Regions from separate parts of the Homo sapiens genome. Here regions 2 and 3 are each linked to region 1. Evidence: promoter capture Hi-C in 16 types of primary human blood cells and fetal thymus (Javierre and others, 2016). All regions are on one chromosome and are shown on one strand. The core of a region is centred on a gene start or on the middle of the fragment in contact, and the rest is flanking DNA. Distances in the headings are between cores, read along the strand shown. Region 1 holds the start of VDAC2 (voltage dependent anion channel 2). Region 2 holds the start of AP3M1 (adaptor related protein complex 3 subunit mu 1). Region 3 holds the start of VCL (vinculin).

Region 1 (4,340 bases), core at 521-3,020:
GTGCCTGTAGTCCCAGCTACTTGGGACGTGGGAGGCTGAGGAAAGATGATCGCTTGAGCCCAGGAGGTCCAGGCTGCAGTGAGGTATAATCATGCCACTGCATCCAGCCTGGGCAACAGAGGGAGACCCTGTCTCAAAAAAATAAGTAACTCTAAATTTAAAGCAGCAAGATATTTACAATTTGCAATGATTGATCTGATTTCGCTAAGCAACCCAAACATACATTTTCACTCTTTATCTAAAACGTTTTAAAAATAAGGTTCTTACCAAATCCTTTGTTGAAAATATCTCTGGCAGCTTTGCCAAGGTCAGCATATGATGGAGGAATACACATTGCTGGTAGAAAAAAAACATTCCAGTGTTAATGTCTCTATTCTCCCACCTTCTATCCAAGAACAAGAGCATGACCCACTGCTGATATTAAAATTCAAGCAATCCCATTTGTTGGAATGTTTTTTATGCGGTCAGGAGCTACAATAGAACTATAACGACCCATAAAGGAGATACCACCAACGAATTATTTCTAAAACAGATAACCATGATTATACAAACTTGGGGAATTCGTTTCAAAACGGAAAAACAGTCTATTACCTACAGCCTCACTTCCTAGGACTGGACAAGTACAAAGAATCAAACAAGTATTTGTGTGTATGGATATTTATGTATCTGCCAAAATTCACTGAGATGAGCTGATTTAACTAAATTAGATAAAACCGAAACCTAAGACTAGGCCCTTTACCCTGATACGTCCTTTAATATCTTCGCTGAGGGGAAAACCAACACCCTGGAGTGGGAAGAGAATTTAATACTGGGAATTTAAATATTGAAACTTGGAAAAAATACTGCCATGTGTGTTTCACTCAAATGTCTACATCAACTAAATATCAAATAGCGCTTCAAACTTACTAATGTGACTCTCAAGTCCTCGGCCAATGCTGTGCTGCTTAAGGGCAGGCAATCTGAGCTCATTACACCAGCTCATTCATTCCACAAAGCACGTCCACGCCCTTAGGAGCACAAGTAATGACCTTGCGCTCTCACAAGAGGGACTGCTACTTCCTCTAGAAAAGTGATTGATCCGATCCTCCAAAGGCAGAATCCCCAATTAACAACTTTTTACTTCTATACGTCAAAGACATGTACAAAGGCTGAAAAGTCCATGCGGCCACAGACCAACTCCCCGGGCCTTGTTCCCCATTTGAAATCCAGCAGCCCAGCCCCTCCTCCGCAGAGGAGGTGGTCAGACGGTGGGGCGACCACCAAAAGCAGCCGAATTTCCAAGTTCTTGGAAAGATAGGGGGAAACAAACTGGGTTTCTGGTCGACAGGCTTCGACTCTCCGCCGCCCCATCCCGCAGAGATCCCAGCTTTACTTACGACGCGCGCAAGTCTGTCCGTGGGTCGCCATGGCGAGGCCGCGGGAAGAGGGGAATCTGCGGGAGGGACAAGAAGTGCGGTAAGCTGGGGTCAAAGGGCCAAAGGGAGATCCCGGGCAGAGAGGGGCGAGGGGCCGCGGGGCAGCGCGGCCATCTTAGGAAGCCAGGGCCGACTCCGAGTCCGGCGCGGGCCTCCGGCTTGGCCGCCGCGGCCTAGGCCCCTGGGTCGGCGTGAGGCGGGCGCGGCGGTACCTGGTGGTGTCCTGAGGGGGGCCGCCGCCACCGCTCCGCTAGCTGCTGAAGCCGCTTGGCACGCTCGCGGTCGGGCTGCAGCTCCAGCAGCTGGAGGGCGAAGTGAAGGAGACACCGTTCCGCCCGCCGCAACCCTGTCCTCTCCCAGACAGGACCCCGCCGCTGCCCCCGGGGCTGTCCGCCGCGCCTGTCCCTGCAGCGCAGCCCGCTGCCAACTCCAACCTGCTCCAGAGCGGCCACGTGGACCGACAGCGCCCCGGTCCTGCAGGTGGGCTGCCTCCGTCCGTCGGTGGGGATCCGGAAGGCAGAAGCTGCTGGGCCTTGGATCAGGCAGCTATCCGGGCAGCCTCAGAGGCGAGGGGGCGGGGAACGGCGGAGGCAGCGCGCTGGGGACCGCCTGGGAGGGGGATGGGGCGGAGGCCCCGCGCGAACGCGTCACGGACGGGGCGGGGCGTCGGCGCGTGGCCGGGGCGATAGGGCGCGGCTGCGCACCAGGGTCACGTAGATCTCTCCTACTCCCCTTACGCGCTGGTGCGGGTTCCCCCCCGAAACAAAGCCCTGCATAGGGTGCCTGCGGGGAGTCAGCTGAGCGTTACCCACGTCCATCCTAAGCTAGCGCAGCCTGCGCTTCTGAGGGACCGCTTCTCTTTCCCAGCCCAGGGAGAACGAGTGGGACACAGGGGCGCCACCTCCAGCCCCTCGCGCTCTTCTGCCCTCTTTTCCCACCTTGGTGTGACTGCCTTGCTGTGCTGGGTTGTGTGCCTGAGAGGCTTTTTGGGACTGCCTCTCCCTGAACAAATGTGAGCGGGTCCTAGCGTGCCCCACCCATTTCCACGCCGCCTTACGCTTTCTCTTCCGCGGCTCCTCCCCACTCAGGCATGGCACTGCTTCACACACGCACGGAGCCGGAGCTTGGCGAGGCAAGCCTGCTCCGGGCCCAACCTCCTCTGGATTATGGGCCTGGAGAAAATGTGGAATCATGCTGAGCAGGCGTTAGAATGCCGCACCCGAGTTCCCCGGGTGTGCAGGAAGGGTGACAGAGCTATTAGATAAAATGTATATGGGAGACCGTTAGTTTAGACTGACCTCCTGCATTAGGCCCATCAGACCAAACCAAAATGGGGTTACTCATGCTGAAGTTTCACACTACCACGCCAAAGCTAGGATCTTTATCTGACCTTCCAAGAAATCAGGAGAGAAACAGATGCTAGCCAGATCCCCAAACAGGCTGGGCGCGGTGGCTCACACCTGTAATACCAGCACTTTTGGATGCCGAGGTGGGCGGATCGCCTGAGCTCAGGAGTTCCGGACCAGCCTAGGCATAGTAATACCCTGCCTCTACCAAAAAAAAAAAAAAAAAAAAAAAAAATAGCCGGGCGTGGTGGCTGGCGCCTGTAGTCCCAGCTAATTGGGAGGCTGAGGAGGGAGGATCGCTTGAGCCTGGGAGGTTGAGGCTGTAGTAAGCTTAGATGGTGCCACTACTGCACTCCAGCCTGCCCGCTGGAGTAAGACCCTGTCTCAAAACAAAAATCCCCAAACAGGTCAGTTTTAGCTGGCATGAAGAAGTCCCGTGTTCTTTAACCTTTACAAGAAAAGTAACTTTCTACCAACTAATCCACTTTTTGTTTCTGCTTTCCTCGGTCCTTTTCTGTCTGTAATACCAACTTCCTCTTCTCATTGGAACATTCATTCCATTTTACAGAATGAAGCGTTGCCCAATTGTAGAATTGGAACTAAAAGCCAGTTAAGATGTTTAAACTAAATTCTTTGTAATTTTTTCTTTTAACAGAGCCAAAGGAAAAAGAAAAAATGAGCAGTCTAATGAAATAGAAATGGGTTCAACTGGAACTCCCAAAGCAGTCATCTATCCAATAATGTCGCCGGTAGACCTCAGTGGTTTTTTTGGGTTTTCTTCTTTTTTTTTTGAGACGGAGTCTCGCTCTGTCGCCCAGACTGGAGTGCAGTGGCGCGATCTCGGCTCACTGCAATCTCCACCTTCCGGGTTCACGCCATTCTCCTGCCTCAGCCTCCCGAGTAGCTGAGACCACAGGTGCCTGCCACCACGCCCGGCTAATTTTTTGTATTTTTAGTAGAGTCGGGGTTTCACCATGTTAGCCAGGATGGTCTCGATCTCCTGACCTCGTGATCTGCCAGTCTCGGCCTCCCAAAGTGCTGGGATTACAGGTGTGAGCCACCGCGCTCGGCCTACCTCATTTTTTTAATCTATAAAATGACAAATGAAACGAAGTGATCTTTAATAGCCATCAGCCATAGTCTCTGAGCAAAGCCTTTTCCCCCTTGACTTTCTCTGGCTCTGAAAGCCATGTCTGCTCAAATGCTCTCAACGTTCTACCCTCCTCCTAAACCAGAAAAGGATAGGCTTCCACAGTTCAAAACCCAGATGAAAGCTGCAGCCTGGAAGATTTCCCTCCCATGAGCAAGCCCAGCCAGCTGTCTTGCCTGGTCATGACTGGGCTTACTCATGTTGCAAAAGGTTAGCAGAATTTACTTCTAAGACATCAGGCACCAGAAGCCCTCATTCATTCCTTCATTCGAGCTCAGACAGGTCGGTTTGCAGTCATCCTGGCTCTTCTGGGAAATAGTCTGGTATGTTTGATGTTATTGTGAGGCTAACAACAAAGACCGGCATTTCCATCCCAACTGCACCACAGCACCCTACCTCCCCGAAACACCCAGTCTGATAAATGAGTCA
Region 2 (4,448 bases), core at 51-2,550, 1.1 Mb after region 1:
TATGTCTATTTTAAGATGGAAAAAAAAATCGCTGCCTTTCAGCGAACATTTCCAAATCATCAAAGACTGCCTGCTTCACTTTATACTTATTAGGAAGGGATATTTTAACAAATGACTCTTCATAAGTAAAAGTTGCAACATCAATCACATGTGAGGCAGGTGTTAGGGGCAGCACTGTCCCCGTTGCTGCCAAAAAGTGTAAATAAAAAAGAGAAATCAACCTTTCCTATCCATTCATCCAAATGCTGCCCCTGCAAAGCATCGGAGGGGTCTGGGTCCCTGGTAGAGGGTCCTCAAAGGTACGGGCTTTCAGAATGTGCACGAAAAGGAAGGTCAACGTGCCCTTCCGCAACACTCTGAAAAATCCCCAAGAATTCTGACTTTGCCCCAGTGTACAGCAGTTGCCGAGCCTCTTTCCCGCCATCCCCCGGGAAGAGAAGGCGGCCGCCTACAGACGCTGCTCCGGTCCGACCCTCCGGGGTCGCACCAGCCCAGCCTGGGCTTGCTCGCAGGTGGCGCGGTCAGCCAGCTCGGTCCCCCTGCGGGCCACGACTGGCGAAGGGCTGCTGGAGCCGGAGCTGCACCAGACAGGCGGGGACTCAGCCAAACGGAGAGAACGTCTGGCAAGGGGTCGCGGCCAAGCGGGCAGCTGGGGGAGGTCCTGCGTGTTGGCCCCAAGCTGGCAGTGAGAGACACCACCCAGCGTCGGGGCCGTGCAACCCCACGTGGGCCCTGGCTTGCTTGCAGCGCCGTCACCCTCCTCCCCAAGTCCGGCAGCGCTCACCTCAGCGCTTGCGGCGCCTCCACCTTCAGCTTTTTGGGCTTCGGCTCCTCCTCAGCAGCTGCCATCTTCGCGCTCCCACCCCACTTTGGCTCTACAGCCCACCTCTGCCATCCACTCTCTGGTCCCGCCCCCTCTTCGCATCACCGCTTTCTCTTCTCCAAATCCCGCCCCTCCAGACTCCGCCCATTCTGTGCCGCTGTCATCCACAATCATTGGCTCTATCCGTCGGCACCAACAGCGAATGCCCCGCCCATTCCTGACCCCGCCTCCCCTACCATGAGGGACCCCAGACTGCGTTAGGCAGCAGATGACCGCCTGAATCTAGATGGAGAGAAACCCACCATTTTTCTAGGCCCTGGATTATGTAGAAGATTTAGATACTAAGCCTCAAGAGACGTCTTTCCTCTCATTTACGGTCTTCCTGCATATTTAAAATTTCTAATACGGTAGACAGAGTCGGTGTCTTTGAAGCTGTTAATCAGGCAATTTCCTGGGCACTCCAGCTGCGGGTCCTCGCGGCCTTCTCGGCTTCTCCAGCTTCGGTAGGAGAGGATCCGGCGCCGAATCACTGACTGGCACAGGTGTTGGGGTGAGTGTGAGGGGCGGGAAATCTGTGGACTGGGGACAGCTCCAAAACCCGGGAGTAGGCTGAATAGCTGGGGCCCCCGACTCCGATCTGGGCTCTAGGAGCGTCTTTGGTGCTGTTGGCCCGGGCCTCGCTTCCCCCCCACTCCCGGCCTTCCGGGCTTTCTCGCCAGCAAGGCCAGAAGGGAGCGGTCCACCTGCAGCCCAGTGTTCTCAGGCGCCTGAGCCCCGGAGGTCAAGCTTACTGGGTTCCCCCTCTATAGTGAGCTGGAGTACAGACGGCAGGAATCTCAGTCCCAGGTTTCTGCTTTGGAGGACAAAACCCCAAACGGACCTGAGCAGACGTCCTGTTAGCGGGTGGTGCCTGGAAGAGCCTGGGGTGAGGAATGCAGTGAGAAGGGTGTTGCAGTTCTTCAGGAGAGAGGTAACGGGGTTCTAAGCTGAGCAGGTGGCAGTGAGTGTGGAAGAGTGACGGGCGATGTGGCTGTTTGTATTTGGTAGATTTGTTTGAACCTGAAACTTACAGCCTTATGTGTGATTAAGAAGATGGTGCCAGTGACAGGAGGAGGTATTTTATGGAGTTTGAGTTTTATCGAATTTGAAACAGTGGTTTACATGGAGATTGTAGAAAGACTTTAAAAAAAATTATGAGAATTAAGCCCGAAAGACTTTCAAGGTGAGACCCAAAACAGATGAAGTTTCATATAAAAGGGTAAGAAGTATTTTTGTTTAGGAGAAAGTTATCAATGACATAAAATGCTGCAATGGTCAGAGGAGGAAGCTGAAATCAGAATAGGTCGTTGGATTTTATAATTAGAAAGTCATTGAGCTGTTTGAGAGAGATGCTTTAATAGTAACTGAGGAAAGACTGCAAGTGTAGACCAATCCTTCATCATTTGGGGCATGAAGCAAGATTATTGAGAGTGGCAAGGTGGGGGAAAGTTTGGGGTTTGTTTTAAAGAATACAAGATATCTATTTGGGGGCAGGAAGCAAGCAACTATTTGAAGATTCAAGAAAAAGTCTTGTCTCCCAGAAGAGAAGGAAAGGAATGGGATCAAGTTACAAGTGAAAGGATTAATTTGGGAAAGACAGAGGGACACTTTCAATTGACACTATAGGAGAAGTGAAGTGAATGAGGTTAATGAAGAATTATCTTAATTTACGAATCTTGGCCAGGCGCGGTGGCTCACGCCTGTAATCTCAGCACTTTGGCAGGCTGAAGCGGGCGGATCACAAAGTCAGGAGTTCGAGACCAACCTGGCCAACATAGTGAAACCCTGTCTCTACTAAAAATACAAAAATTAGCCAGGTGTGGTGGCACACGCCTGTAGTCCCAGCTACTTGGTAGGCTGAGGCAGGAGAATCCCTTGAACCCGGGAGGCGGAAGTTGCAGTAAGCTGAGACCTCACCACTGCACTCCACCCTGAGCGACAGAGCGAGACTCTGCCTCGAAAAAAAAAAAAAAAAAAAAAAAAAAAAAAAAAAAAAAACCTTACGTATCTTTAGGAAAGCTCTCTTTGCAACAAGATTATATTTTCTTACTTAATCTTATGATTTTTATTTCTAACCATTTAATATAATATACGGCCAGGCACGGTAGGGCTCATGCCTGTAATCCCAGCACTTTGAGAGGCTGAGGTGGGTGGATCACGAGGTCAAGAGATCGAGACCATCCTGGCAAATATGGAGAAACCCCGTCACTACTAAAAATATAAAAATTATCTGGGCGTGGTGGCACGTGCCTGTAGTCCCAGCTACTCGGGAGGTTGAGGCAGGAGAATCGCTTGAACCCAGGAAGCGGAGGTTGTGGTAAGCTGAGATTGCGCCACTGCACTCCAGCCTGGCAATAGAGTAAGACTCCGTCTCAAAAAAAAAAAAAACAAACCAATATACTATGGGCAGATGGAGTGCGGTGGCTCACGCCTGTAATCCTAGCACTTTGGGTGGGTGAGGCGGGAAAATCACTTGAGGCCAGGAGCTGGAAATCAGCCTGGGCAACATAGCGAGACTCCATCTCTACAAAAAATTTAAACATTAGCCAGGCTTTGTGGCATGTGGTTGTAGTCCTAGCTACTCAGGAGGTAGAGGCAGAATGAGGCAGAAGGATCACTTGAGCCCAGGAGTTCAAAGTTACAGTGAGCTATGATTGGTCCACTGCACTTCAGCCTGGGCAACAAAACAAGACCCTATCTCTTAAAAAAAAATACATATACACATACGCTATGGGAGTTCTTTGCAGATTTAAATATTTTTAAGTAGCTCAGTACTGTGTCAATTCATGAGTAGCACATGGTATTTACAGAGAAGAGGACTTCTCTCTCCCTTTGGAAATGACCTCTCTCCCATTACACAGAGAAGGAGAGCCATCATCTGCCTGCAGTCAAGTATACAAACCTTCCCTTCAATCTGAAGAGTAGAAAGTGTTCCTTCTCCTTAGAGAAGGCAAACCCTTTGACCTAGTCTCTCAGTAGCATCCTCTCCTGCTATGTCAGGGTCCTCTTTCCGTTTTTCCCTCTCTCCTATGTCAGCTTTTCCCCCTCTATTCACACCTTTCCTTCAGCATTTGAATGTATTCTTCCTTCACTTTATGAACTGCTGCATTTATTTTCCTGTCTTTTCATCCTCTTCACAGCTAGACTTCTTGAATCTACTCTACATATCTCTATTTTTTTACACTTCTTGCTATTTATTTCCCAGCCCACTGCAATGTCTTATTTCTAGCATTCCACTGAACTACCACCAAAACTATTTTTTTTTTCTGAGATGGAGTCTTGCTCTTGTCGCCCAGGCTGGAGTGCAATGGCAATCTCGGCTCACTGCAACCTCCGCCTCCAGAGTTCAAGTGATTCTTCCGCCTCAGCCTCCCGAGTAGCTGGGATTACAGGCGCCTACCACCATGCCCAGCTAACTTTTGTATTTTTAGTAGAGACAGGGTTTCGCCATGTTGGCCAGGCTGGTCTCGAACTCCTGACCTCGTGATCTGCCCGCCTCAGCCTCCCAAAGTGCTGGGATTACAGGTGTGAGCCACCGCACCCAGCCCACCAAAACTACCTTTACCAAGATCACCAGTGTCCTCTG
Region 3 (4,150 bases), core at 1,626-4,125, 1.2 Mb after region 1:
TAACCTGGAAGTGACTTACTCACAAGTACCTTTGTTCATGATTAACTATTTATCAGCACAATCCTCCCTACTTTGTCTCTGCTAACCCATAGCTACCACCAATCTCAAGTCCCCTCTTTTGTATGTGTTGGAAAGTATATAACTTAACTACATATCATTGTTTTCATCTTATAACCTTATTTCTTTTGTATTTGTCTCACAGTGTGTATTACAGTGTTTCCTAACTAAGGCCGTATATCACAATCACCTATGGAGCTTCCTAAAAAATACGAAGGCCTGGCCGGGCACAGTGGCACATGCCTGTAATCTCAGCACTTTGGGAGGCCGAGGCGGGCAAATCACAAGGTCAAGAGATGGAGATCATCCTGGCCAACATGGTGAAACCCCGCCTCTACTAAAAATACAAAAATTAGCTGGCCACGGTGGTGCGAACCTGTAGTCCCAGCTACTCGGGAGGCTAAGGCAGGAGAATCACTTGAACCTGGGAGGAGGACGTTGCAGTGGGCCCAGATCGTGTCACTGCACTCCAGCCTCGTGACAGAGGAAGACTCCATCTCAAAAACAAACAAACAAACAAACAAACAAAGGCCTTCAGCTACTTGGGAGGCTGAGGTGGGAGGATTTTTCTCAGTCCAGGAGATGGAGGCTGCAGTGAGCTATGATCACGCCATTGCACTCCAGCGCCTGCGTGACAGAGCGAGACCCTGTCTCAAAAAAAAAAAAAAAAAAAAGCAAAATACAAAGGCCTTGACCCGTGGGAGCTGGACATCTTAATTTCTAAAAAGCCTCACTGATGATTTTCATGAACACTCTTAAGCTGAGAAGCACTGATTTATTGCAGTGTTTTCCATATAGCAGACATTCAATGCTTATTAATTCATGGCATGGAAGCCCATAAATAACTTTTCTCTAAATAGCCTAACCAGATATCAACCCCTAGACTACACTAGCTCTGTTCCAAGTGCAACATGTGGTTTTAAGATTTCATTTCCTGAAGTACTACATGGAGAGACACTATTACCTTGTCTCTTTACATTGTTTCCTATTTGTTGAAAAATGGAGGCCTGGAATGCAGCCATGTTAGACAACACTACATAAGAATGTACTCTGGAGTGTTCTGTTCAAATTAGTTATAAAAAGAAGAACAATGTACAAGTAGACATTGTGAATGAATACAGCATTCTTACTGAATGAATAGATTCTTACTAAAGCTATAGAGAAGAAAGATCAGGAATTTGGTCGGTGGTGTCACCCTGTCTTCCTAGCTACCAGTCTCCTAAATTGCTTGAGACAGTCCAGGGACCCCTGAAGACTGAGGAAGACTTTCAGCTGCTAAAGAGCCTCTAAGTGCACTAAAGTGCTCAAATCAGAAAAGTAACCCAAGCCCCACCCAGACAGACCCACAGTTGCCGCCCAACTGCCCTGACACACACTATTTACACAGCTCAGTGGGGGAGCAGTATGAACTTTTTCCAAAATTGTTCCTCACAAGCAGGACCAGTCTGAGTCACCCACCCAGGGTGGGAAAGAAAAGTGTGACATTAGCCAGGGGAGTCTTGGGAGACTGGTCTCAGCACCTCTTTTTTCCCATTTCAGACGTGGGCTCCACCTCCTCCAGGAATCACCTCGGTTATGAGTCACAGCTGTGGGTTACAGGGGTCTGCAGAGCCACCAGGAAAGTTGTGGATGGGGAGCGGATGCCCCAGCCTTCTCTCCGGCAGGGGCGGCAGATCCCAGATTCCACAGGCCTCTCCCAACAGCTCCATCTTGCTTCCTGCCAGGAGGAGGGGCCAAGGAGGGCCCCCGAGTCTAGAAAGGCCCCAGTGGGAGGAGGCCGTTTGACAGCAGGTAACGCCAGGTGAAAATGTCCACAGGAGGGAATGAAAGGAAGGGCAGCAGGGCTGAGCGGAAGGAAAAACCGGGCTTGTGGTCACGAATGACTGCATAAAGGTGTGAGAGTGCCAGAGGAGTGAGCATAAGTAAAATGCCCAGGAGGGAGGAGGAGGCGACAGAGAGTGAGGCAAGTGAATAAAAGGGCGGAATACAGGGAGCTCTGGGGAGCGGGGGTGGGCGAGGCGGGTCTCAGGGTGAGGGGCAGAAGTATTAGAAAGGAGGACAACGTGGCTCAAATAAGGATCCCTAGAAGAGAAGGCAAGGGATCCGTGGGAAGGCCCGCTCTCCCTCCCCCGCACAGCCAGATCGAGGAGGCCTAAAAGGCGCTGAGAGCGAGGAAGTCAACGTGGGGGCGAAGCCTGCGCGGGGCAGGGACCCTCGGACATCCCAGCAACTCTCATTTATTGGGTGTCTGCTGTGGGCCACACGCCGCGCGAGGCACTCCACGAATAATACCTCGCCATATCTTCACGACAAGCCCGCAAGGCAGCCTTTTTCATGACTGCTCCCATTTTATAGATGAGGACACTGAGGCCCGGAGAGGCTCAGGACTCGCTCAAGGTCACAGGGCGGAGAAGAGGCCATTCGAACCCTCGGCGCCTGGCTCCGGAACCCACGCGGAAAGCCACGGCCAGCGAGCCGGCCACAGGCAGCCGCGACGCGGGCCGGGGCCCCGGGGATACCTCCCGCGCCCGCTCCCGCGCCAGGCCCTGCGCGCTCACCCGGACGAGGTTGCTGACGGCCGCCTGCACGGCGGCCACGGGCGCGGTGAGGTCAGGAATGGCTTTGCCGTCCACCTCGCCCTCCTCGTGCATTATCACCAGGTGGGAGATCTGCTGTGCCACCGGCTCCAGGATGCTCTCGATCGTGCGCGTATGAAACACTGGCATCGCGGCGGCGAGCGGGGCGGCGAACCGCGGGCGACAGAGAAGTAGGATCCACGGGGCCGGGAACCGGCGAAGAGACAGACTGTGCAGCGACTACGGAGTCGGGGCTTCCCTCGGCGTAACCAGCCTCACGGGCTCCCCGCCCCCTCTCGTCGCCGCGCCCAATGGCAGCGCAGCTCAGACCTGGGCCGCCACTCCTACTGGTCCCTTTTCGAGATGCTCCGCCCCAGCCACCGCGCCGCCAAACCCCGCCCCTCCCCCATTCCTAAGGGAGGGGCCTGGGATTGGGGCTGAGCCGCCGGGATTGCTACCGGATTCCCGAGCCCTAACGCCGGGCGCTCCTTATAAGGGCATGGTGGGAGCGGAGCGGGCCGCTGGAGCCGGCTGGTCCCGCCCCCGGGCCGCCTCCCGCCTCGGATCTGGGGGGCTCCGCCCCTCTGCAGAATCACCTCAGCGGGGCGGGGTCTCCTCACCTCAAGCGGCGCTAGAGTTTGATGAGACCAAGGGGTCTCCCACGTCCCCTCCTCAACTTTTCCCTTCACACGAAACCCTCAAAATACTCCTTCCATTCCCTCCCAGCAATGCATGGGAAGGTTTTTAGTAAAAGATTCAAACAGCAGAGGTGCACTGAGAAACAGCAGCGTCCCATTCACGTAAACGCAGACTCCGCCCCCTGCCCTCCTCAAAGACATTCTGTTTAACAGCTGGGTGTGTAGCCTTCTAGACTTGTCTATAGATTCACTTCTACATATATATTTTCTAACTAAATGAGATTAATAAACATTTTCCTGGAACTAGGTATGATTGCCCTTGATTAAAATGCCCTTATCTTTCACTGCTGGTAGAGGTCTACCTCATTCTTCTTAATGACTGCATGATATTCCATTGCATGAAATAAAACTATTTACAGAACCAATTTCCTACTCATGGACTTGGGTTGGGTCCTGGTTTTCACTATTAAAAAACAATTCTGCATGAATTGTACTTACCCCTGTGCTGTGCATCTGTGTATTTATCTAGCGCAAATGCCTACCAGGAAAGAGAAAAACGCAAAAGTATATGCATTTTATATTTTGATAGGTAAGACCAAATTATCCAGTTCCCTCACGCTTTGTATAAGACATCTTCCAGGCCGGGCGCGATGGCTCACGCCTGTAATCCCAGCACTTTGGGAGGCTGAGGCGGGCGGATCACGAGGTCAGGAGATCTAGGCCATCCTGTCTAACACGGTGAAACCCCGTATCTACTAAAAATACAAAAAAAATAGCCAGGCGTGGTGGCGGGCGCCTGTAGTCCCAGTTACTCATGAGGCTGAGGCAGGACAATGGCGTGAACCCGGGAGGCGGAGCTTGCAGTGAGCGGAGATCGCG

The links. Contacts are between HindIII fragments. The CHiCAGO score rates a contact against its expected background, and 5 or more counts as called.
Region 2: the fragment with the promoter of AP3M1 here is called in contact with the fragment with the promoter of VDAC2 in region 1 in 14 of 17 cell types (fetal thymus, neutrophils, total B cells and 11 more); the score reaches 28.2 in fetal thymus.
Region 3: the fragment with the promoter of VCL here is called in contact with the fragment with the promoter of VDAC2 in region 1 in 4 of 17 cell types (neutrophils, total B cells, monocytes and 1 more); the score reaches 9.5 in neutrophils.

Annotation. Positions count from the first base shown.
Region 1 is chr10:75,208,226-75,212,565 of GRCh38, reverse strand. VDAC2 (voltage dependent anion channel 2) reads right to left here and starts at 1,770. Exons shown (of 10, transcript NM_001391963.1): 1 at 1,628-1,770; 2 at 1,377-1,432; 3 at 268-336. The coding sequence starts at 1,407. RefSeq lists silencers at 1,497-1,866, 1,887-2,196, 4,301-4,340 and enhancers at 1,841-2,135, 1,866-2,447. The HindIII fragment of the contact is 6,617 bases long and covers 1-3,093 here.
Region 2 is chr10:74,147,680-74,152,127 of GRCh38, reverse strand. AP3M1 (adaptor related protein complex 3 subunit mu 1) reads left to right here and starts at 1,300. Exons shown (of 9, transcript NM_012095.6): 1 at 1,300-1,373. ADK (adenosine kinase) reads right to left here and starts at 907. Exons shown (of 11, transcript NM_006721.4): 1 at 785-907. The coding sequence starts at 849. RefSeq lists enhancers at 557-736, 1,147-1,376. The HindIII fragment of the contact is 5,595 bases long and covers 1-1,611 here.
Region 3 is chr10:73,996,841-74,000,990 of GRCh38, reverse strand. It overlaps VCL (vinculin), which reads right to left and starts at 2,875. Exons shown (of 22, transcript NM_014000.3): 1 at 2,616-2,875. The coding sequence starts at 2,783. RefSeq lists enhancers at 1,923-2,574, 2,647-2,846 and silencers at 2,527-2,576, 2,907-3,266. The HindIII fragment of the contact is 4,841 bases long and covers 1-4,150 here.